Linked DNA regions of Homo sapiens: all the other regions are linked to region 4. Evidence: promoter capture Hi-C in 16 types of primary human blood cells and fetal thymus (Javierre and others, 2016). All regions are on one chromosome and are shown on one strand. Each heading gives the region's core, a stretch centred on a gene start or on the middle of the fragment in contact. The rest is flanking DNA. Distances are from core to core; before and after follow the strand shown.

The links. The method cuts DNA at HindIII sites, captures the fragments that hold promoters and counts their contacts. A CHiCAGO score of 5 or more calls a contact.
Region 1: a contact is called between a fragment that was not itself captured here and the fragment with the promoter of RETSAT in region 4, in 1 of 17 cell types (endothelial precursors). The highest score is 5.3, in endothelial precursors.
Region 2: a contact is called between a fragment that was not itself captured here and the fragment with the promoter of RETSAT in region 4, in 1 of 17 cell types (endothelial precursors). The highest score is 7.1, in endothelial precursors.
Region 3: a fragment that was not itself captured here is called in contact with the fragment with the promoter of RETSAT in region 4 in 1 of 17 cell types (M1 macrophages); the score reaches 5.7 in M1 macrophages.
Region 5: a contact is called between a fragment that was not itself captured here and the fragment with the promoter of RETSAT in region 4, in 1 of 17 cell types (erythroblasts). The highest score is 5.5, in erythroblasts.
Region 6: a contact is called between a fragment that was not itself captured here and the fragment with the promoter of RETSAT in region 4, in 9 of 17 cell types (erythroblasts, M1 macrophages, total B cells and 6 more). The highest score is 9.7, in erythroblasts.

The regions. Positions count from the first base shown.
Region 1 is chr2:85,045,264-85,049,014 of GRCh38, forward strand. KCMF1 (potassium channel modulatory factor 1) reads left to right here. Exons shown (of 7, transcript NM_020122.5): 5 at 841-1,015. Among named protein-coding and RNA genes, the nearest start is that of LINC01964, 20 kb to the right of the region's middle. The HindIII fragment of the contact is 3,334 bases long and covers 481-3,751 here.
Region 2 is chr2:85,090,040-85,093,769 of GRCh38, forward strand. No RefSeq gene overlaps it. Among named protein-coding and RNA genes, the nearest start is that of LINC01964, 25 kb to the left of the region's middle. The HindIII fragment of the contact is 989 bases long and covers 1,906-2,894 here.
Region 3 is chr2:85,655,235-85,658,563 of GRCh38, forward strand. SFTPB (surfactant protein B) reads right to left here. Exons shown (of 11, transcript NM_000542.5): 11 at 2,080-3,329. Among named protein-coding and RNA genes, the nearest start is that of SFTPB, 11 kb to the right of the region's middle. The HindIII fragment of the contact is 1,889 bases long and covers 572-2,460 here.
Region 4 is chr2:85,353,278-85,356,569 of GRCh38, forward strand. It overlaps RETSAT (retinol saturase), which reads right to left and starts at 1,251. Exons shown (of 11, transcript NM_017750.4): 1 at 1,059-1,251. The coding sequence starts at 1,230. ELMOD3 (ELMO domain containing 3) reads left to right here and starts at 1,492. Exons shown (of 14, transcript NM_001135022.2): 1 at 1,492-1,552; 2 at 1,799-1,893; 3 at 2,278-2,321. RefSeq lists enhancers at 1,253-1,754, 1,319-1,718, 1,755-2,254, 1,889-1,948. The HindIII fragment of the contact is 19,367 bases long and covers 1-3,292 here.
Region 5 is chr2:85,717,447-85,720,756 of GRCh38, forward strand. No RefSeq gene overlaps it. Among named protein-coding and RNA genes, the nearest start is that of GNLY, 25 kb to the left of the region's middle. The HindIII fragment of the contact is 2,908 bases long and covers 42-2,949 here.
Region 6 is chr2:85,636,142-85,639,519 of GRCh38, forward strand. USP39 (ubiquitin specific peptidase 39) reads left to right here. Exons shown (of 13, transcript NM_006590.4): 8 at 1,228-1,295; 9 at 3,062-3,250. Among named protein-coding and RNA genes, the nearest start is that of USP39, 22 kb to the left of the region's middle. The HindIII fragment of the contact is 283 bases long and covers 1,276-1,558 here.

The DNA of each region.
Region 1 (3,751 bases), core at 898-3,397, 310 kb before region 4:
AATCATAATATAAAATTATCAAATATATAAATATGATCATATCACTTTCTCTAGAACCCAAACCATCCTCATGAATATGATGGAACAGGGCATGTACCGTGACACCTGAAGGCCTCTTGGAGCTACCCATCCGGTCCTTAAATAACTCCAGAACCATCAGCTGAAAAACTGAGAAGCCAGCCAAAAAATTAATCTGCATTATAAAGCTGGTCTGTTTGGTACTTTAAAGGAAAAATCTCTTCTATATGATCTGGCCTCCCCCACCTCTCATTTGCCTTTGTGGAAACGTAAGGTTGTCTTCATGAGTTTTGACAGCTATTTGCAACTCAGGACCTTTTTCAGTTTGACTTACACTCAGCTGTGTAAGACGGTTGAGGCTGCTGGGAATTTTTCTTCGTGATAAATGTCATGTTAATCTATCTGTGTGTCTTATACAAGAAATGCAAATCTGTTTTCTGCTTAGCAGCGGCATTGGAAAGAAGCTTGAAGACAGAGTAAAACTAATAATCCAAAAGGAACCTTTGATGTGCTGAATATACATTCAGTATTGTTCCTTTTTCATTATAGGTGGTATTTGAGATTTCATGAGCTATATAGAGAAACTTTTTTACCTCACACACCCAATACACACACACACACTCACATGTTGCCTTACATTTGAGTGTCTTTTTAGGGTTAATAGCCCTCATAGATAGAGTTGGGACATTTGCACTTTAAGTTAAATGTGCTGTTTTTAAATGCTTACAATTCAGGAAATCTTTACATCTGTCTAGCAAGGACTCAGGTGATTTTTTTTCTTTCTGTGAAATACTTTCGTTTTTTTCTTAACTTTTGGGTTATGATGAATCGAGTGGTGTTCGACATGTACGTAGAATGTTTCACCCTGGCCGGGGATTAGGAGGTCCTCGTGCTCGTAGATCAAACATGCACTTTACTAGCAGTTCTACTGGTGGACTTTCTTCTTCTCAGAGTTCATATTCTCCAAGCAATAGGGAAGCCATGGATCCTATAGCTGGTAAGTTAGTTTCACATTAATAAGGGAAATGGCAGGGGAAGGAGGAGCTCCTTTTAAAACTTTTTGTGATGCCAGGTGCGGTGGCTCACACCTTTAATCCCAGCACTCTGGGAGGCTGGAGCGGGTGGATCACTTGAGGCCAGGAATTCAAGACCAGCCTGGCCAACATGGCAAAACTCCATCTCTACTAAAAATAAAAAAATTAGCCAGATTTGGTGGTGGGTGCCTGTAATCGCAGCTACTCTGGATGCTGAGGCATGAGAATCGCTTGAGCCTGAAAGGTGGAGGTTCCAGGGAGCCGAGATCGCACCACTGCAGTCCAGCCTGGGTGATGGAGTGAGACCCTGTCTCAAAAAAAAAAAAAAAAACTTTTTGTGAGATTTGTGTTCTTAAGTCTCACCTCTCTGATCATAAGCCATGTTCCTTCACAAAATTCCCAAATACATTAAAAGTGTAAAATGTGTTAAAAGCAGACACTTAACATAAAGTAATTCATACTCTTCTGGCATTGCTTAAGTCCAGTAGTCCCCCCGTCATGTGGTTTTGCTTTCCTGGGTTTCAGTTACCCACAACCAACTACAGTCAAAAAATAGGTGAGTACAGGACAATAAGATACTTAGAGAGAGACCACATCACATAACTTTCATAGTATATTTTTAGATTTACTCTATTTTGTTGGGAATCTCATGTTCCTAATTTATAAATTAGGTGCCTAATTTATAAATTAAACTTTAGCACAACAGATAAGTATGTATAGGAAAAAACATAGTATGTATAGGGTTCTGTATTATCCAAATGCCCATTTCAGCCATTCACTGGGGGTTTTGGAACGTATCTCCTGCAGGTAAAGGGAGACTACTGTTCTTAGAGACAAAAGATGATAAGAAATGGTTTTATGTTGTATTTGTGGCCTCTATTGAAGCCCAAGGAAATCATAAAAGATTTCAACTTGAATACCTCCAAAATGTCATGGTTAAATCTCCATAAGTACACATAAAAAAATGTCCAAAGCACATTTGAAATTAAGGTTTTATAAGGTATAGCTAACATTTTTAAGAACATGTTATGTGTAAAATTCTGTCACAGATTTATGCCTATCTCAGATGTTGTGCAAGGCGCCTCATGGCTTCCAGGTACACATTCCACCACATGGACACATTTCAGAACTGTTATCTATAGCTAATTGAAAAGACTAAAGAATTAAGCTCTTCTCATGGAAGAAAGGAAAGTAGGACTTAATGTCCTGACCTTGATTTGAGAACTATATTGTTGTAGAACATACTGAAAGGTACATGTTTAATAGCTTGGGAAAAATCTTAAAAAAAAAAAAAAAAACACAGTTTTTGAACCTGGCCATGTCACTGAGTCTAGTACATGACAAACCTAGGAAGTTGGTAGCAGAACACAGGGTCAAAATAAAATACAAGAAATCACTGTAGCCTGATAATCTGCAAGACACACCAAGCAGACAAGTGGTAAGACAGTGGGAAGTGTGCACACATTTAAAGCAACAATTCTGAAATGTGTCCATGTGGTGAAGTGTGCACCTACCTGGAAGCCATGAGCACCCTGCAGAACACCTGAAACATTGATAAGTGTAAATCTGTAATAGAAACTGAGAACATCAGAGCTAAATGACAACTTAGGAACACAAAGGAGGAGACAGCAGACACTGGGGGAGGGTAGCAAGAGAGAGAGGAGCAGAAAGATAACTGTTGGGTACTGGGCTTAATTGGGTCCTGGGTGATGTAATAATATGTATGACAAACCCTCGTGGCAGGTGTTTAACTGTGTAACGGACCTTCACATGTACCCCCAAACCTAAAATAAAAATTTAAAAAAGAAAAACAACCTAAGAACAATTTTATACCTATCATGTTATTTAAAAGTTAGATATACCATATAAAATTTTAATTCCAAATGTGCTTTGGACATTTGTGTGTGCAACAACAAAAACAAGCCTAATAAACTGAGTTTGGGGGATTTAAAAAATATTTCTTCATCCAAAGGGAATATTTACCTGCTATTTTGGTGGCAGGCACTAAAAATTAAAGTAGTTTCTGGGAGCAAAATTCAAAATTGAGAAATTTTCTTCATTTGATTTTTTTTCTGTCAGTGAAAATTAGTTTATTTTAGTGATAGACTGTATATTCCATGAAAGAGTGGTATAAGAGTGCTATAAAAAGCCTGGGATAAAGCAACAGTGAGCAAGAAAACAAACTGTTAATGAGTTTTAATGATAAAGAGTTTTTGCTGGCCTGAAAGTGTCTGCAAGGCAGTCATCGATTCCCTATAAGCGAGGTGGACCCTCCACTTGGAAGAAGGCATTTCACTGTACCTTACTTAGATGAGGATGCGGGGACAAAAGTTTACACCTCTCTTAATGAGTACAGCCTTATGGACACAAGACAGTCTGGATCATAACAGGCCACTAAGTAGGCTGTACAGTCAGATGCAGCAGGTTCTCAGGAGCCAGTCAGCCTTGCTGAGCACTGGTAGTGGTATCTACTGCAGTGGTACTCTGAAACAGCAGTACCAGAAGGTACTAGAGGGAGAAAGCAGAGGCAGAGAGTGTGCAAGGGCCACCATCAGAAATGATCCAGGCCTCTTGGACTGAATCCTAATAATTCATTCAGTCATTCAGTAAATGTTTGAATTCCTGCTATATCAGGCCCTGTTCTGATAGCTGGGAATATAGTCAACAGTAGACCTCATCCCTGCTTCCATGGAACACAT
Region 2 (3,730 bases), core at 1,150-3,649, 260 kb before region 4:
GGCTTCATTAAAAAACACATGATAATTATTAAAAATTTCAACAGCGGCCAGGTGCAGTGACTCACACCTGTAATCCCAGCAGTTTGGGAGGCCGGGGCAGGTGGATCACGAGGTCAGGAGATTGAGACCATCCTGGCCAACATGGTGAAACCCCGTTACTACTAAAAATACAAAAATTAGCCAGATGTGGTTGTGCACGCCTGTAGTCGCAGCTACTCAGGAGGCTGAGGGAGGAGAATCACTTGAACCCAGGAGGCGGAGTTGCAGTGAGCTGAGATCACGCCACTGCACTCCAGCATAGGCGACAGAGGGAGACTCCACCTCAAAAAAACACACAAAAAAACAAAAACACAAAGAAAACTTCAACAGCACAGAACAAGGTAAAAAAGGAACAACAAAAATATCACATGGTACACCACCATTTAGCAATAATCTGTTTACACTTGATAATATTTCCAAATGTCCGTGTATGTCATGGCCCTGACAGTTAACTTGTTGAGTGTTTACTCCAGGGCAGGCAAAAGCTAAGACTTGACTTCATGAAATTGCCACGGCACACAGGATGGCGGGGACTCCTATGACTCCCTTCCCACAGGTTGAAGAAATGGGGTGAGGAATCTGCGCAAGGTTACATCTGGAAGGTGCTGGACTTCAAGCCCAAATCTGTCCAGCTCCAATGTTCTAATACTAATTCCTACCAAGTGCTAAAGTAGTGGCAGGTCATATTATAGAAATTGTCATTCAAAAGAGTGAGTTCTGGGTCCTTTTTCACTTAATGTCTCCTGACCTTTCGCCAAAATCATTAAAATGCTTTCGTTTGTTTGTTTCACCAGTGATCAAAGAAAAGCAAATCAGCCAGATGCTGCGGCCCATGCCTGTAATCCCAGCACTTTGGGAGGCTAAGGAGGGAGAATCGCTTGAGCACAGGAGTTAGAGACCAGTCTAGGCAATATAGTGAGACCCCCGTCTCTACAAAAAATAAAACACTAGCCAGGTATGGTGGTGCGTGCCTATAGTCCCAGCTACTTGGGAGGCTGAGGCAGGAGGACTGCTTGAGCCCAGGAGATCAAGGCTGCAGCGAGCTATGATTGCATCACTGAACCCCAGCCTGGGTGACAGAGAAACCTGCTGTCTCAAGAAAAAAAAAAAGGAAAATATCATTTTTTCACATATCACATTGGCAACATTTTAACATAAAACAAGATGCATATGAAGAGTTTTAAATGAATGTTCAAATGCCTTGATTCAGTAATTCCATATCGAGGAACCTATTCTAAGAGACAGAGAGGTAGTGGAAGATTTATTTATAAAAATATTCATTGTGGCATTATTTAGAGCTGTGAAAATTGCTGTGGAAAATAATTTGAATGTATAACACGCAACTTCAGAAAATTATGCCAGCACAAAATATCATATTAGAAAGTATATTTAAGGCCGGGCGTGGTGGCTCACACCTGTCCCCAGCACTTTGGGAGACTGAGGCGGGCAGATCACCTGAGGTCAGGAGTTCAAGACCAGTCTGGCCAACATGGTGAAACCCTGTCTCTACAAAAAATACAAAAATTAGCCAGGTGTGGTGGCAGGCGCCTGTATTCCCAGCTACATGGGAGGCTGAGGCAGGAGAATCACTTGAACCTTGGAGGCGGATGTTGCCGTGAGCTGAGATCGTGCCATTGCACTCCAGCCTGGGTGACAAGAGCAAAACTCCATCTCAAAAAAAATATATATATATATATAGATATATATATATTTAATAGCACACAAAAATATTCCCAGGATATGTAAGGTGGAAAAAGTAGAATATGGTTCTGATTTGGTGACATTTGTAAAATAAATCCATATAAATTAAACAACATTTCAACATTTCAGTCTTCTTATTACCTAATAATGTGAAAAGGAAAGGGAAGCTTAGGGTATGCTTAGGATAGGTTGCATTCAAATATAGGTTTGTGGCATACTCACAATTCCCTTTGTAGTTGTGGCGGCCTGCCCAGAAATAGGCAGCTAAACAGGTTTCAGAAGAGATCTCCCTAAGGGCCAGAAGGGATCTGCCTCCCAAAGTGTTAAGATCCTGAGTCAGGGCAAAACAAAACAAACAAACAAAAAACGCACAAAACAAAAAAGGGTTTCAGACATGGGACCCAAAGCCACAGTGCCAAGTCCATAGGATCCAAATTACAGGTAACAATGTGCAAGCAAGTTGCTTCTCCTACCAGTAACCATGAGGCACAGCTCCCTGGTGTGTCGCAGAAGGCTGTGTTTACTTAACGATTGCTATGGCTTGAATGTGTCCCCCAAAAAGTATGTGTTGGAAATGTAATCCCCAGTGCAGCAGTATTGGGAGACGGGGCCCAATGGGAGCAGTTTAGATCATGAGGGCTCCACCCTTATGAATAGATTCATGCCAATTTTAAAAGAGCTTGAGACTGCAAATTCAATCTCTTGCCTTCTCTCACCATGCAATACCTTCAGTCATGTTATGACGCAGCAAGAAACCCTCGCCAGATGCATTCCTCAATCTTGGACTTCCCAGCCTCCAGAACCATGAACCAAATAAATTTCTGTTTGTTACAAATTAGCCAGTGTGTGGTATTCTGCTATCGCAGCACAAAACAGACTAAGACAACAATGGTTAGTGACATTCTGAGCAAGGCTGGGAGGCCACAGTTTGCAAATATGAATAGGAACAGCCTAGAAGGACAGTCCGGTATTACCAACACTTATCTCTGAGTGGTGGGATTAACCAATTATTTTTCACTTTTTACATTTCTGTGTTTTCTAAATTTTTTTGTCCTAAATACATGTGACTTTTTGAAAATTCTTATTAAGAAAAATGTCAAACATACCAAAAGTAAAGAGACTAAAAAAAATTAATCTTCCTCTGTCCATCACTAAGCTTTGGCTATTCTCAACATTCTGTCAAACCTGTTTTATCTCTCCACACTCCAATTTTGTTTTTTCTTCAGTATTTTGTTTTATTTTATTGGGACAGGGTCTCACTCTGCCACCCAGGCCAGAGTGCAGTGACACAACCATGGCTCACTGCAGCCTCGACCTCTCTGGCTCAAGCAATCCTCCCACCTCAGCCTCCCAAGTAGTTGGGACTACAGGCACATGTCACCATGCCCGGTTAATTATTTATTTATTTTTAGAGATAGGGTCTCACTATGTTGCCCAGTTTGGTCTTGAACTCCTGGCTTCAAGTGATCCTCCCTTGCCTCAGCCTCCCAAAGCTGTGGGATTATAGGCATGAGCCACTGTGCCTGGACTTTTCTTGAGTATTTAAAAACAAATCCTAATTTTTCCATGTTAGGCCAGTGAAGCCCCCTCAAGTTGTCTCATATGTCCTTTTCAAATGACTTCATTAGTCTTTGACAGTTTCTGTGCTTCCTGGCACAACAAAATATTCCTGCTAGTGGTAGATTTTTAAAAATGGTTACAAATCCCTCTCTTTCCTGTATGCAGGCTTCTTTGCAATATGACTTTGCAACTTAGAGTTGAATGGACTCTAGAACAATATGCAGCATGAGAAATGGGAGGATTTTGCTCCCCCAAAGTGCAATAAGGCCCTCTGTGTTTTTGTTTTTTGTTTTGTTTTGTTTTGTTTTTTAAGAAAGAAGGCAAAAGTTTATTTATAAACCATTTACCTGAGATAATCTCCATTCTTTTTCTTTTTTTTATTATTATTATACTTTAAGTTTTAGGGTACATGTGCACAATGTGCAGGTTA
Region 3 (3,329 bases), core at 266-2,765, 300 kb after region 4:
ACGCCTGTAATCCCAGCACTTTGGGAGGCTGAGGCGGGTGGATCACGAGTTCAGGAGATCAAGACCATCTTGGCTAACACAGTGAAACCCCGTGTCTAGTAAAAATACAAAAAAAAAAAAAAAAAAAAATTAGCTGGGCGTGGTGGCGGGCTCCTGTAGTCCCAGCTACTCAGGAGGCTGAGGCAGGAGAATGGCATGAACCTGGGATGCGGAGCTTGCAGTGAGCTGAGATCACGCCACTGCAATCCAGCCTGGATGACAGAGTGAGACTCTTGTCTCAAAAAAAAAAAAAAAAAAAAGTAAGGGCCAGCCATGGTATCTGACGCCTGTAGTCCCAGCACTTAGGGAGGCAGAGGCAGGAGGATTGCTTAAACCCCAGAGTGATCGCACCACTGCACTCTAGCCTGGGAGACAGAGCTGTCATGTGGCAATTAGCAATAATAGTAGATACTTACATTTATTGACCTGAAAAGGTTATTGTTAAATGAACAGTGCAGGTTACAAAGCAGCATGTATAGGATGTTTCCATTTTGTAGATCTGCTGTATCTGTTTTTGTATATGTGCACAGAAAGCTTTGGAATTATAGATAATAACATGTTAATAATGATTATGTCGTGGATTTAAAATTTCAGTTATTCATTAGGGGGACATAATGTAATTATCTTTATTTCTCTATAACTGAACTCATTTTGGCTCATGAGCCCTCAAAACATATTATTTCCATTTCGGAGTAACTCATTCCCTTCTTAATACTCAGCCTCTCTTGGCTGACTAACCACTGAATCCTCTTTCCCCTTTCCCTGGGAATGATTTACAGATTGCCCTGCGGTGAGGAGAGGCACTGGGGACTAAGCATTCCCTGGCCATCCAGGTCTCTCTGGAGTGTCTCTCGTCTTGCCTGATCATCATCTTCTTGTGCCATCACTGCTACACATCTGATTTCTGCTCATCTCAAGATCCACTAAATCTGTCACAGATTCATCCCCAACCGTGGGCTCTTACGGGTGCACCATCTTGTCCAGAGCCAATTCTGACTGCCTCTCGGTCTGTGGGTTGAGGTTGCTCTTCTGCAACCACATCACACTGGGAACACTCTGTGAGGCAGACCTCAGGCCAGCTGCCTAGCTCCATCCCTCAGGCTAGCGTCCTCACCCTTTCTGATGTCCTGTGAGAGGCAGGCTTCTCTTAGAAGCCCACACCCTGGAAAGTGAAGAATAAGTCCCCTCCTCTTGGGCTATAATCCCTCCTGGGACTTCTCTTCCCCCAACTTCCTAAGGGCAGAGGTGCAGGATGTTGGACACTTCTCAGGGACCCTAGGAGTCTCAAGTGTAGCCACTTCCTGCCAATTCTGTCCTCCTACCAGCTAGTCAACTCTTTTTTAAAATTATTTATTTATTTGTTTTTGAAATAGGATCTCTCTGTGTCACCCAGGGTGGAGTGCAGTGGCATCATCACGGCTCACTGCAGCCTTGACCTGGATTCAGGCGATCCTCCCACCTCAGCCTCCTGAATAGCTGGGACCACAGACACACACCACCATGGCCAGCTAATGTTTGTATCTTTTTTTTTTTTCTTTTAGACAGAGTTTTGCTCTTGTTGCCCAGGCTGGAGTGCAGTGGCGCAATCCTGGCTCACTGCAGCCTCTGCCTCCTGGGTTCAAGCAATTCTCCTGTCTCAGCCTTCCAAGTAGCTGGGATAACAGGCATGCACTACCACATCCAGCTAATTTTGTATTTTTTTTAGTAGATATGTGGTTTCACCATGTTAGGCTGGTCTGGAACTCCTAACCTCAAGTGATCCACCCACCTCAGCCTCCAAAAGTGCTAGGATTACAGGTGTGAGCCACCATGCCCAGCCAAATTTTTATATTTTTTATAGAGATGGTGTTTTGCCACGTTGCCCAGTCTGGTCTTGAACTCCTGGGCTCAAGTGATTCACTCACCTCAGCCTCCCAAAGTCTGCCAATTCTTGACCTCCTTTTGAATGAAGCCGCCTTTTTCATTATCAGGCACTCATTCCCACTCATATTTTTGGGATAAACTATTAATGCCTCCAGTTCTTCAAACATTGGCTCTTCATTGTCTCAATCAAACTTTTTTGTTTTTATTTTTTTAAATTTAAAACACCCTTTTCTCTCAGAGAGTTGGATTTTGTAATGGAAACAATGGCTTTAAGGACAGTAGTTAGCTATAGATTTACAAATGTCTACTTAAAATCCAGGAGCCAATGAATTGTGTGTCTCATCCCCAGGCCCAAGAGCAGGCTGCATAGACAGCTCTTTCTGGCGCTTGAACGGTGGAGGTGTGGAGCCAGAGGCTGTGGGGAGAAGATGGAAAAAGCCCCAAGCTCAGTGTCAAAACACACACCCTGCCGTAGCTCTCTCCTGGGCTAGGTGGGATTGTGGGTGTCACATGCTTCCCTGTGAAGAGACTACCAAACAGGCTTTGTGTGAACAATAAAGCTTTTTAATCACCTGGGTGCAGGTGGGCTGAGTCCAAAAAGAGTCAGCAAAGGGTGGTGGGATTATCATTAGTTCTTGTAGGTTTGGGATAGGCGGTGGAGTTAGGAGCAATTTTTTGTGGGCAGGGGGTGGATCTTACAAAGCACATTCTCAATGGCGGAGAGAATATTACAAAATACCTTCTTAAGGGTGCGGGGGTGCGGGCGTGGGGTGGGTGGGGAGAATATTACAAAGCACCTTCTCAAGGGTGGGGAAGGTGTATTGTCACAAGGTCAATTGATCAGTTAGGGTGGGGCAGGAACAAATCACAATGGTGGAATGTCATCAGTTAAGGCAGGAACTGGCTATTTTCACTTCTTTTGTGGATCTTCAGTTGCTTCAGGCCATCTGGGTGTATACGTGCAGGGCACAGGGGATATGATGGCTTAGCTTGGGCTCAGAGGCCTGACAGTGGGTAATTTCCACTCTCTTTGTCTGTAGTTTCTGAATTTCTTACAAGAAACATGTATAAGAAATATGACAAAAGTTATTTTATAAATAAAGGGACACTTCCAGGCATTTCAGTCTTTAAGAAAAGCTAAGGCTTGTTTGGCTTTTTGTTTATTTTTAGGTTTTTGGTGTCCTCATGACCTAACCTCATCCCAGTGAGTAGAGACTGGGAGGGGAGAGCAGCAGCTGGAGGGCAGGCTGGGAGCGCTTGTGAGGGAGAGGAGCTATGGACGTCTGCTTCTCTGCCAAGGGAGAGAGTGAGGTAGGCCTGGGCCCGCTGACTTCAGGGTGAGGCCACAGCTACTGCAGCGCTTTTTATTTATTTATTTATTTACTGAGATGGAGTCTTGCTCTGTCACCCAGGCTGGAGTGCAGTGG
Region 4 (3,292 bases), core at 1-2,500:
CCCTGTCTCTACTAAAAATACAAAAATTAGCTGGGCATGCCCACTACTCGGGAGGCTGAGGCAGGATAATCACTTGAACCCAGGAGGCGGAAGTTGCGGTGAGCGGAGATCGCGCCACTGCACTCTAGCATGGACAATAGAGCGAGACTCTGTTTCAATAAATAAATAAATAATGCCAGTTGCAACTCACTAAATTGATTTCATAGCCCACTAATAGATCACAATCCGGTTTGAAAAGCAGTTAAGCTAGTCATCTCATTTTTAGACCAGCCCAGGTAGGTGCTAATGGTTATGCAGCAAATTAGTGACAGAGTCCAAGCTAAAACTCAGTTCTCAGAAGTCCAGATGATTAGTCCTTCCACTTAGAACAGTACTGTCTCCGATTGTGTAGCAAGATATGACACGGAGAATTCTAAAATTTACAAGTGAGAGGGACTCCGTAGATCAAACAGGTGATCCATTATTTTTTAAAGCAGCAGAACTCTTTAAACTCTAGAAGCAACCACAAAATATGTTTTAAAGATGAGAGTGGAGAGCAGGCTCTGAGCCTGAGGCGCCTTGTTGAACCTCTGCCAATGTTTCAGAACTAGGGTTCAATCCTTACGATTTGGGACCATGCAAAGCCTGTTAAATCACCGGACGGGCAAAACGCAATTTCCTACGCATTTCTGTGCTGCTCCCCCACACCCCTGAGCTCGCATGGGAGGGTAGGTGAAAAAGTTAAGGTCCTGGAACCAAGTGGAGGAATGAGTCACGGGGATTATCAGTTCCACGAGCCACGGGGATTACAAGTGGCAGGGCGGGTGCCAACACCTTGCAAACCAAGGACAATGACCACACCCTTGGGACTACTATTCCCGGGGCCTACTAGGGCAAAGGCTATCGACAGTGTTGCACACTAAAGCGGGGCTCCTCCACGTGCAAGGAAGCCCTCCTAGTACTTTACATATGGGGAAACTAAGGCCCACGTCTGGTAGCGGCTGCCTTGGCAAAATGAGAACCCAAATCTGTGAGAAAGCCTCGAGTGCAGCCCCGGACCCCAGGGTCCCTCCTGCTACCTTGTTTGAGAACCTTCTTCCTGGCCTCCTTGTCAGTTACCAGGGGCGCTGGGGGCCGTTTGACATCTTCGGAGAAAGGATTCGGGGAGCTGCCAGAGAATAGTCCCAAGTAAACTTTGCAGAGGACGGCCAGCAGCAGCACAGCCAGGAGCAGCACCAGCGGAAGCCACATCACGCCGGCGTCGGGTCGGGTAAATGGGACAGCTCCGACTGCGCTCAGCCTCTAGGACTGTGGCTCCGCCCGGGCTAGTTCGCTCTCCAGTCAGGAGGCGGAGGCAGCTTTGAGCACTGATTAACCAGCCAGCCAGCGAAGAGCCAACTCTCAGGTGATGATTGACCCTCCCGGCTCTCCGTACTTCTTTTGGGTTTCCATTGCCTACTGGGAAATGTAGTTCTCGGGGCCAGGGGAGCCGGCACGGAAGCGGCTGTGCGCATGAGCAGATGAGGCCTAGCCGAGGCGGCGGGACCCCCAAGTTTGGAAAGCTCTTTTAACGGTGAGAACGCGTTAACACTTGCCAAGGGGAGTGGTTGGTGCCTGTGCGGAGCTAGCAGCCGGCCTGAGGAGGGAGGGAGAATGTGATCCGGTGGAAATTATCACTATGGGGCGAGACAAGGCCGAGAGTTGTAAGACTGAAAGAGAATCCCGACTGGGAGACAGGAGTCCTGAGTTCTGGTCCTGGCTCTGCCCTGGACTCGCTGCCTTGAGGTGTTAAATTGCTTTCCTCGTCTTACGCCTCCAGGCTATGCGAAAGTTCTGTCCAAAGGCTGCTCACAGCCCCTGTCTGACTGGTTGTCATGATGAATTGAGCTCTCTGTTACCTGCGCATCACAACCGGTGAGCGTCTGTCTCTGTGCCCCTCAAAGTGGCCCATAGTTTTGTCCTGGGGGCCCGCCTGGGACGGAGTCCTCTATGGCGGGTCCCTAATGACACCCCATCCGTGGGGAACCTGGGGGACGGGGAGCCGCCCATGGACAAGCATGGTGAAAGGATCAGCTAAGGGCCCATCTAATTTAAATTCCTATGCAGAGAATCTAACCTCCAGCAAGCAGTTGAAGAATCATACCCCCTCCTTGCCTAAAGAGGGTGCATAATGAATACTTGATTGGAGAAGGATCCATTTTTACAGGAAGGCCGTTTCCTTAGGTCCAACTATCAGGAATTTGCCTTTGAGTACTTCCTTGTTTAATGGAATTGTTGCTCTTTTCTTCTCTGCTACAGATAGTAACTGTCCCTACTGAAGGCCCCAGGAGTGCTCCAGCCAGGTGTGGAAAGCTGGTCACGATTCTATGCTACTTGGTTCATTTTCTACACAGCAACAGAAGAGCCCTCCTGAGATTGCTATTACCATACCCGCCTGTCACCTTGCCAAGGCTGGCCAATGTGTGTTTTGTCATAGGCTGTCATGGAGGCCATGATGGAGGAAAAGGAAAGGGGAGGCAGATGTTGAGGCCCCAGAGGCCACAGTGAGAGCAGTTTAGTTCCTGGGGTGCCAGGACTAAGGGGGCATTGCCCTGTCCCCCGGATTACAGTGAGCCACATGTCAAGCCCAAGAGCCAGGAGGTATTCTTCCTCTCAGTGTTAATAATCAAAGCATCCTGACACCAGCAGCCAGTTTTTATGGCATCCTGGAGGGCTGACCTCATAGAGAGGCTACCCTCCTTCCTTAGTCACCCAAAGTTGTGAACTATGATTGTCAGTTGTGTGTGGGCCATCTGCCCACTTAGGATGCAATTTTTGATGTGACAGACATTCCGGATGTCCAATTCCCCTGTGATGAGGTATGAGCCTTGTCCAGCCCTTTTCCTGAGGGAAGCAATGTCAGATGAAAGACTTAGAATTGCCCAAACTGGCTAGCCAGCTGCCACATGCACAGTATTGCTGATAACTGAGAAAGGTTAGAACATCGTGTTGCATTTTGAATTTCTACCATTGTTGGAACCAGGTCTAGTATTATAAGCCCCTGACCCAGCCTGTGTGTGAGGCCTAAACAAAGCCTGAGCACTTCAGCTAAGACCACCCACCAAGGTGACACCTTTAGCCTCACGCCTTTGATAAGCTGGCCCAGGTCCCAGTAACTCCATTGTCAGAAACAGACCCCATCCCTTCTAGTGGTGCTGCTGCCTTTTGGACACAGAATCCAGCTCACAGTCCCCTGTGTGGTCCCCTTTTGGCCATCCTGTGGCTTGGGTAGTAAGAGGTAAGCATTTGGCTGAGGCAAGTTGTTCATTCAGAA
Region 5 (3,310 bases), core at 246-2,745, 360 kb after region 4:
CACTCTTTTGTTTAATGCTTTAATCCCTGCTTTAAGTAGGAAGCTTCCCTTCAGCTCATGGGAGGCCCTTATCTTACCGGTGGTCAAATAGATATGGGAAACATTGCCTGCTCTGTTTTTGGTGATTGGCGGTGCACGTGAGTATATTAAAGACTCTAAAAACGCATTTTTCAGAGCATGTCTATGACAGCTTGCAGTGTTGGATGTGAATGGCTTCTTCAATGCCAATGTGCAATTAAACGGGAGGAACAGAGATGCTGTCTTGGGAAGTACAGACACAGGGAGAAAAGAGTCATGAGGCTGGCTAGTGACGAAGACAACTCAAGAAGACTTTGTGTACACTTGCCACGTTACGTCACGCAAGATAGGAGTTGTCAATAATTTCCAAATTAATATATTGCACAAAAGGCCTGGGAGTTATTGTTGCTGTCGACAGCACAGTGTTGGTGAGTGCCCCTCCCTAGCATGTAAGATAACATCTGTCTCGGCCTCTGTAATTAAGAACAGATGCGAATCCATTTCAACCTTTCCATGCTCTAGGAGGAAAGGGCTGCCATGCAAATGAGTCAAGCAGGCAAGTGTGCACTACAAATCTTTTCACTTCGGAAGGGCAAATATTGATTTCAAACTTCCTAGAAGTACCTGTTTGAAGCCCTGTCAGTAGCCCAACAGATTCAGAAAAGATATCCTTCCCCGCTTTAGACACCCGACCACCACTTGCCAGAGAACAGTCATAGATGTTCAAATTCCCCATCACGACCATGTGAAGGGGCCACTAGAGCTTGCAGTGCACTTGCGACACCTATGGGCATGGAATCTCCATATTTTCAAGACATACCACGGGTGGTTCATGTTCTGAGGGTTGTCTGATGGAGGACATTCTATCAGCTTTTACTTGGATCTATTGAATGTCCTTTGACGACAAACACTATTCTCCAAAAAATTTCCACTTTTTATTCTCTCTTAATTCCTTTCTCTCCTCTGTCTGCTGTCATCTGATTGATAAAAATCCTACTAGCTGCCTGCCCTGTCCTGTCCTATTCATAGGGACAGCCACCTACCTCTGTGGGCTTCTCTTCTCCCTCTCCCAGCTGCCTGTCCTGTCCTGGTCCCTTTTTTTTTTTTTTTTTTGAGACAGTGTCTCACTCTGTTGCCCAGGCTGGAGTGCAGTGGCGTGGTCTTGGCTCACTGCAAGCTCCTCCTCCCGGGTTCACGCCATTCTCCTGCCTCAGCCTCCCACGTAGCTGGGACTACAGGCGCCCGCCATCACACCTGGCTAATTTTTTTGTATTTTTAGCAGAGACAGGGTTTCACCGTGTTAGCCAGGATGGTCTCCATCTCCTGACCTCGTGATCTGCCCGCCTAGGCCTCCCAAAGTGCTGGGATTACAGGCGTGAGCCACCTTGCCTGGCCTGTCCTGGTCCCTTGAGGTGGCTTTCCTCCCTGAATCTGCTCCTGTACAGTCCTTATGGTCCCCTGATTTGCATCTTTGCTCCTTCCTCCCCAGGCTGTGGGAACCTCCAAGAGAAGGGAGACGGAGAGCCCTGCTCAGAACAAGTGGCCTATGAAGCTGTGGCTGGGTCCCCAGGGTCCTCGGCCTTCCTTGTTCATGGAGGGGGTGTCCTGTGGGTGTGGGGACAGTGGGCTCAGGTGGTCGGGCCAGCAGTGAGGTCTGGCGAGTGAGCTGGTCAAGCAGGCAGAGTAACCAGAGGTGAAGATGAACGCCATGGATTTGGGCACGCAAGAGCTGGCTCCTGGGAAAATCAGCTAGGGCTGGCAGCTTAAGACAGAAAGGTTCTCCTAAGTCCAGGGAAGGGGGTCAAAGTCCACAAAGCAAGGACCTTGCCCTCACCCTCCCAGTAAGTGACACATAGATTAGGTCAGATACTTGAGCGGGGCTGTGAGACTTAGGCACATCCCACGTGTGGCAGATACTGATGGGGTGAGACGCTGAACCTGGAATGGAGCTCTAAATTTGAATTCCAGTTCAGCAGTAAACTCACCACATGACCTTGGAAGAGACCGTGCACCTCCCTGAGCCACAGAGCCCTTTACTGCAAGCTGAGGATAACACCCGTCCTCTGCACCCCAGAAGTGTGTTGGGAGGAGAAAAGGTTAGAAGCCTGGGGGTTCCTTGTAAGCAGTGATGAATGGAGGGGTCTGTGAAGGGTGGCTGAAAATCAGGGTGCTCCAGGCCAGGGGCAGGGATCCTGGCAGTGGAGTGGGAGAGAGATTCAAGAACAGAGTCTCTCCAGGTTTTGCCATCTGTAGAGGTCAGAAGCACCCTGCCTTGACCTTGGGCTATTTCTAGAGAGCTGGCCAGGCATCTCTCATGATGGCAGCAGCTGGCTGCCTCTCCTCTGGTGCTGGCTGCCTGCTCCTTGGCTCTGGCTGGACCTGCTCCAGGTTGAGGTCTCACCAGTTGAGCTGTCAGAGCCAAGGTAGGACAGAACCCAGGCTGAGCCCTCTGGAGAACCCGCAGTATCTCAGAGGCACTTTAGCTTCTGAAGCGAGGAGAAAGCCTTGCAAGTTTAGTCCACGGTAGCCTGGAAGAAGCCGTCTCACTGGGGAGTTGGAGTTGGTCAATATTTCCTACCCCCATCACCACCACAACTTTACAATTGCTTCAGGCATTAATTACCCTTTGCAACAGCCTTCTCATCAAGTCACTTCTCCATTCAACAAATTCTTAGTAAGGGCCGATGTGGCCCCCATAGAGCTTACAACTGAGTGCATCGACAAGAAAATAAACATGAAAAAAATATAATTCTGACTTGTGGTAAGAGCTCATAAGGAAGTGAACTGGGTGCAGTGTAGTTGGGTGGTAAGGGAAGGGGCTCTCTGGAGAAATACCACTGAAGCTGAGGCTCGAAGGATGAGAAGGGGCCAGCTAAGTGAATAGTGGGGGGATAGGAAGGTGTTCCAGGCAGAGGGAACAACACATGCAAAAGCTTAATGGCAGGAGAGGGCTCAGGGCCTTAGAGATATAAAGGAGGTGAGGGGGACTAGACTGTAATGAGTGAGGAAGACAGAGTGGGAGACCAGTCAGAGAGACAGGCAGGGGCTAGATTGGGCAGGGCCTTTTAGGCCAGGGGAAGGAGCTGGGATTGTCTTCCAAGTACAATGGGAAATGCTAAAGGGTTTTAAGGAGAGAGTGATGGCATCTAATTTGCACCGTGAAAGGTTACTTTGCTCTGTGGAGAGACAGAAGAATAGAAGTAGGAAGACTCTGAAGTAGTTTGGGTGACTTAGACTATGATAATGTAGCAGACAGGATAAGCTAGGTTGTGCTGCAGTAACAGACAGCCCC
Region 6 (3,378 bases), core at 167-2,666, 280 kb after region 4:
ACTTATAAAAAGGAGTTATTTTGTTCCCTTTTAAAAAACTTTGCGGTCGGTCGCAATGGCTCATGCCTATAATCCCAGCTCTTTGAGAGGCCGAGGTGGGTGGATTACCTGAGGTCAGGAGTTTGAGACCGGCCTGGCCAACATGGCGAAACCCCATCTCTACCAAAAATACAAAAGTTATTCAGGTGTGGTGGGATGTGCCTGTAGTCCCAGCGACTTGGGAGGCTGAGGCAACTTCCCATTCTTTTGTTAACTGTTTATCTGGGGTAGGCTAGTATCTATGTTATAGATAAACTACATGTTCTTTCTGAATAGGCCCCTCTCCATAGTTTTTGCTAGAATATGGTTATAGTCCCAATGATATTTTATTATATATATATTTTGAGACAGAGTCTTGCTCTGTCACCTAGGCTATGCAGTGGCACGGTCTCAGCTCACTGTAGCCTCCATCTCCCAGGTTCAAGCAGTTCTTCTCCCTCAGTCTCCCAAGGGTAGCTGGGATTACAGGCACCCACTACCACGCCCAGCTGATTTTTGTATTTTTAGTAGAGATGGGATTTCTCCATGTTGGCCAGGCTGGTCTCAAACTCCTGACCTCAGGTGATCTGCCCAAAGTGCTAGGATTATAGATGTGATGGTGTCTTGATGTGGGATTGTGGCCTGTTGCTTTTCCCACTGGATGGCCCTGCCCTCTCTACCAGGTGTCTTCAGCCTGTGTTAACCCTCTGAGCTCTCTAACTTGCGTCTTGGCAGGGTTCTAGAACTTGGTTGTGCTTTCTCTCTTGTTGCTTTGATCCTGTTCTGGCCCATCTCTTAGTCTGTCATTGTCCTCTTGTCTTCATTACAGTTTGGACATTGTCTCCCTTTGAAAGTAGCTTATGGTTATGGGAAGTTCCTTGGCTGTACCTTGTTTTGCTTGTGAATTTTTTTGTAATTCATGTATCACCATTCCTTCATTTTGAACACATTTACCTTTTCTTTTATGGACCAGGCCCTGTGATGGAGGATAAAAAGTTGTCTTAAGAGAAATAAAGTAATTATTTACACAAATAATTATAAAGGTACCCTGGTGGTATATAGTACAAAAGGAAACTTCTGTGTTTAGTGAGAGCTCTGTGTCTTTTGCTGGAAGATGCTGGTTTATTTCAGAAATTTAGAAGCTGGAAATATACTTCAGACATGTTTTCCATCCTCACGGAATTTGTCTCTTGCTTCCTGTTTGTGCAGCTATTGTGACTGATGTTTTCCAGGGGTCCATGAGGATCTTCACTAAAAAGCTTCCCCATCCTGATCTGGTGAGTTAATTGAGCCTGGGTCTTGGACTGATTCATATTGCTTGAGGGGACGTAGGGGAGATGAAGAGATGCTCAGAGAACTGACAAGCCTGCTTGCCCTGTGAAGAGGTTCAACAAAGCACCTGCCTAGTGGCAGCTCTGCCTGGTCCCTGTCATACTAGTGCACTTTTTCAGTTTGGGAGTTAGTGGTTGGATGTACTGTGCTGGTTTAAGTGTTCTGGCCACTAGGTGGTGCTGCTGTGTTTTTTCAGAAAGCTCAGCTAAGCTTTCTTTTTGTTTTTCTTAGTCTCCCTCTGTCGCCAAGGCTGGAGTTGCAGTGGCGCCATCTCAGCTCACTGCAACCTCTACCTCCTGGGTTCAAGCGATTCTCCTGCCTTAGCCTCCTGAGTGGCTGTGATTACAGGCGCTTGCCACCACGCCCAGCTAATTTTGTATTTTTAGTTGTGACGGGGCTTCACCATGTTGGTCCAGGCTGGTCTCGAACTCCTGACCTCAGGTGATCTACCTGCCTCGGCCTCCCAAAGTGCTGGGATTACAGGCGTGAGTCACCGTGCCTGGCCCTCAGCTAAGCTTCCTAGATGGTCTTAGAGCTTTTCTTTTTTGAGATGGAGTTTTGCTCTTGTTGACCAGTCTGGAGTGCAATGGCATGATCTCAGCTCACTGCAACCTCCACCTCCCAGGTTCAAACCATTCTCCTGCCTCAGCCTCCGAAGTAGCTGGGATTACAGGCATGCGCCACTATGCCTGGCTAATTTTTCTATTTTTAGTAGAGAAGAGGTTTTACCATGTTGGTCAGGATGGTCTCAAACTCCTGACCTTAGGTGATCCACCTCCCTTGGCCTCCCAAAGTGCTGGGATTACAGACATGAGCCACCGTGCTCGGCCCACTTTCTTTTTTTAATGGATTTTTTTTCCTTTTTGAGACAAGATCTCTGTCACTCAGGCTGAGTGTGGTGGCGTGATTATGGTTCACTGCAACCTCAACCTCCCTTGCTGAAGTGATCCTCCCACCTCAACCTCCCCAGAAACTGGGACCATAGATACACACCACCACACCGGGCTAATTTTTATTTTTATTTTTGTTTAATTTAATTAATTAATTAATTTATTTATTTTATTGAGACGGAGTTTCACTCTTGTTGCCCAGGCTGGAGTGCAATGGCACTATCTCGGCTCACCGCAACCTCCGCCTCCCGAGTTCAGGTGATTCTCCTGCCTCAGCCTCCCGAGTAGCTAGGATTACAGGCGCCACCACCACGCCCGGCTTATTTTGTATTTTTAGTAGAGACGGGGTTTCTCCGTGTTGGTCACGTTGGTCTTGGACTCCTGACCTCAGGTGATCTACCTGCCTCGGCCTCCCAAAGTGCTGGGATTACAGGTGTGAGCCATCATGCCCGGCCAATTTTTTTTTTTTTTTGTAGAGATGGAGTCTCACTGTGTTGCCCAGGCTGGTCTGGAAGTCCTGGACTCAAGCAGTCCTCTCACCTTTGTTCCCAAAGTGTTGAGATTACAGCCGTGAGCCATCACACTTGGCCTCAGGGCTTTTTAGATAGTCTGGTATATAAGCAAAATATCTTTAAAGAAGGAAACCTGTTGGTTCTTAAGTTAATCTAACCAGGTGGTGCATGCCAAACTGCCCAATCTCTCGGGCACTTCTCTTTGTTCTTTCAGATGAAGGAAATGTCGGCGTGGTAAAACATCGGTTCTGTGTTGGTTCCTATACCCGTCACACTCCTTTCCTCTCTTTTCTTCTCATTCATTTCTAGCCAGCAGAAGAAAAAGAGCAGTTGCTCCATAATGACGAGTACCAGGAGACAATGGTGGAGTCCACTTTTATGTACCTGACGCTGGACCTTCCTACTGCCCCCCTCTACAAGGACGAGAAGGAGCAGCTCATCATTCCCCAAGTGCCACTCTTCAACATCCTGGCTAAGTTCAATGGCATCACTGAGAAGGTAGCCCATTAACACACCTGCCCTGCCTATACTTACCCTCGCTCTCTCGACTTTTTCATTTTCTTTTTTTTTTTTTTTTCAAGACAGAGTTTTGCTCTTGTCGCCCAGGCTGGAGTGCAGTGGCGTGA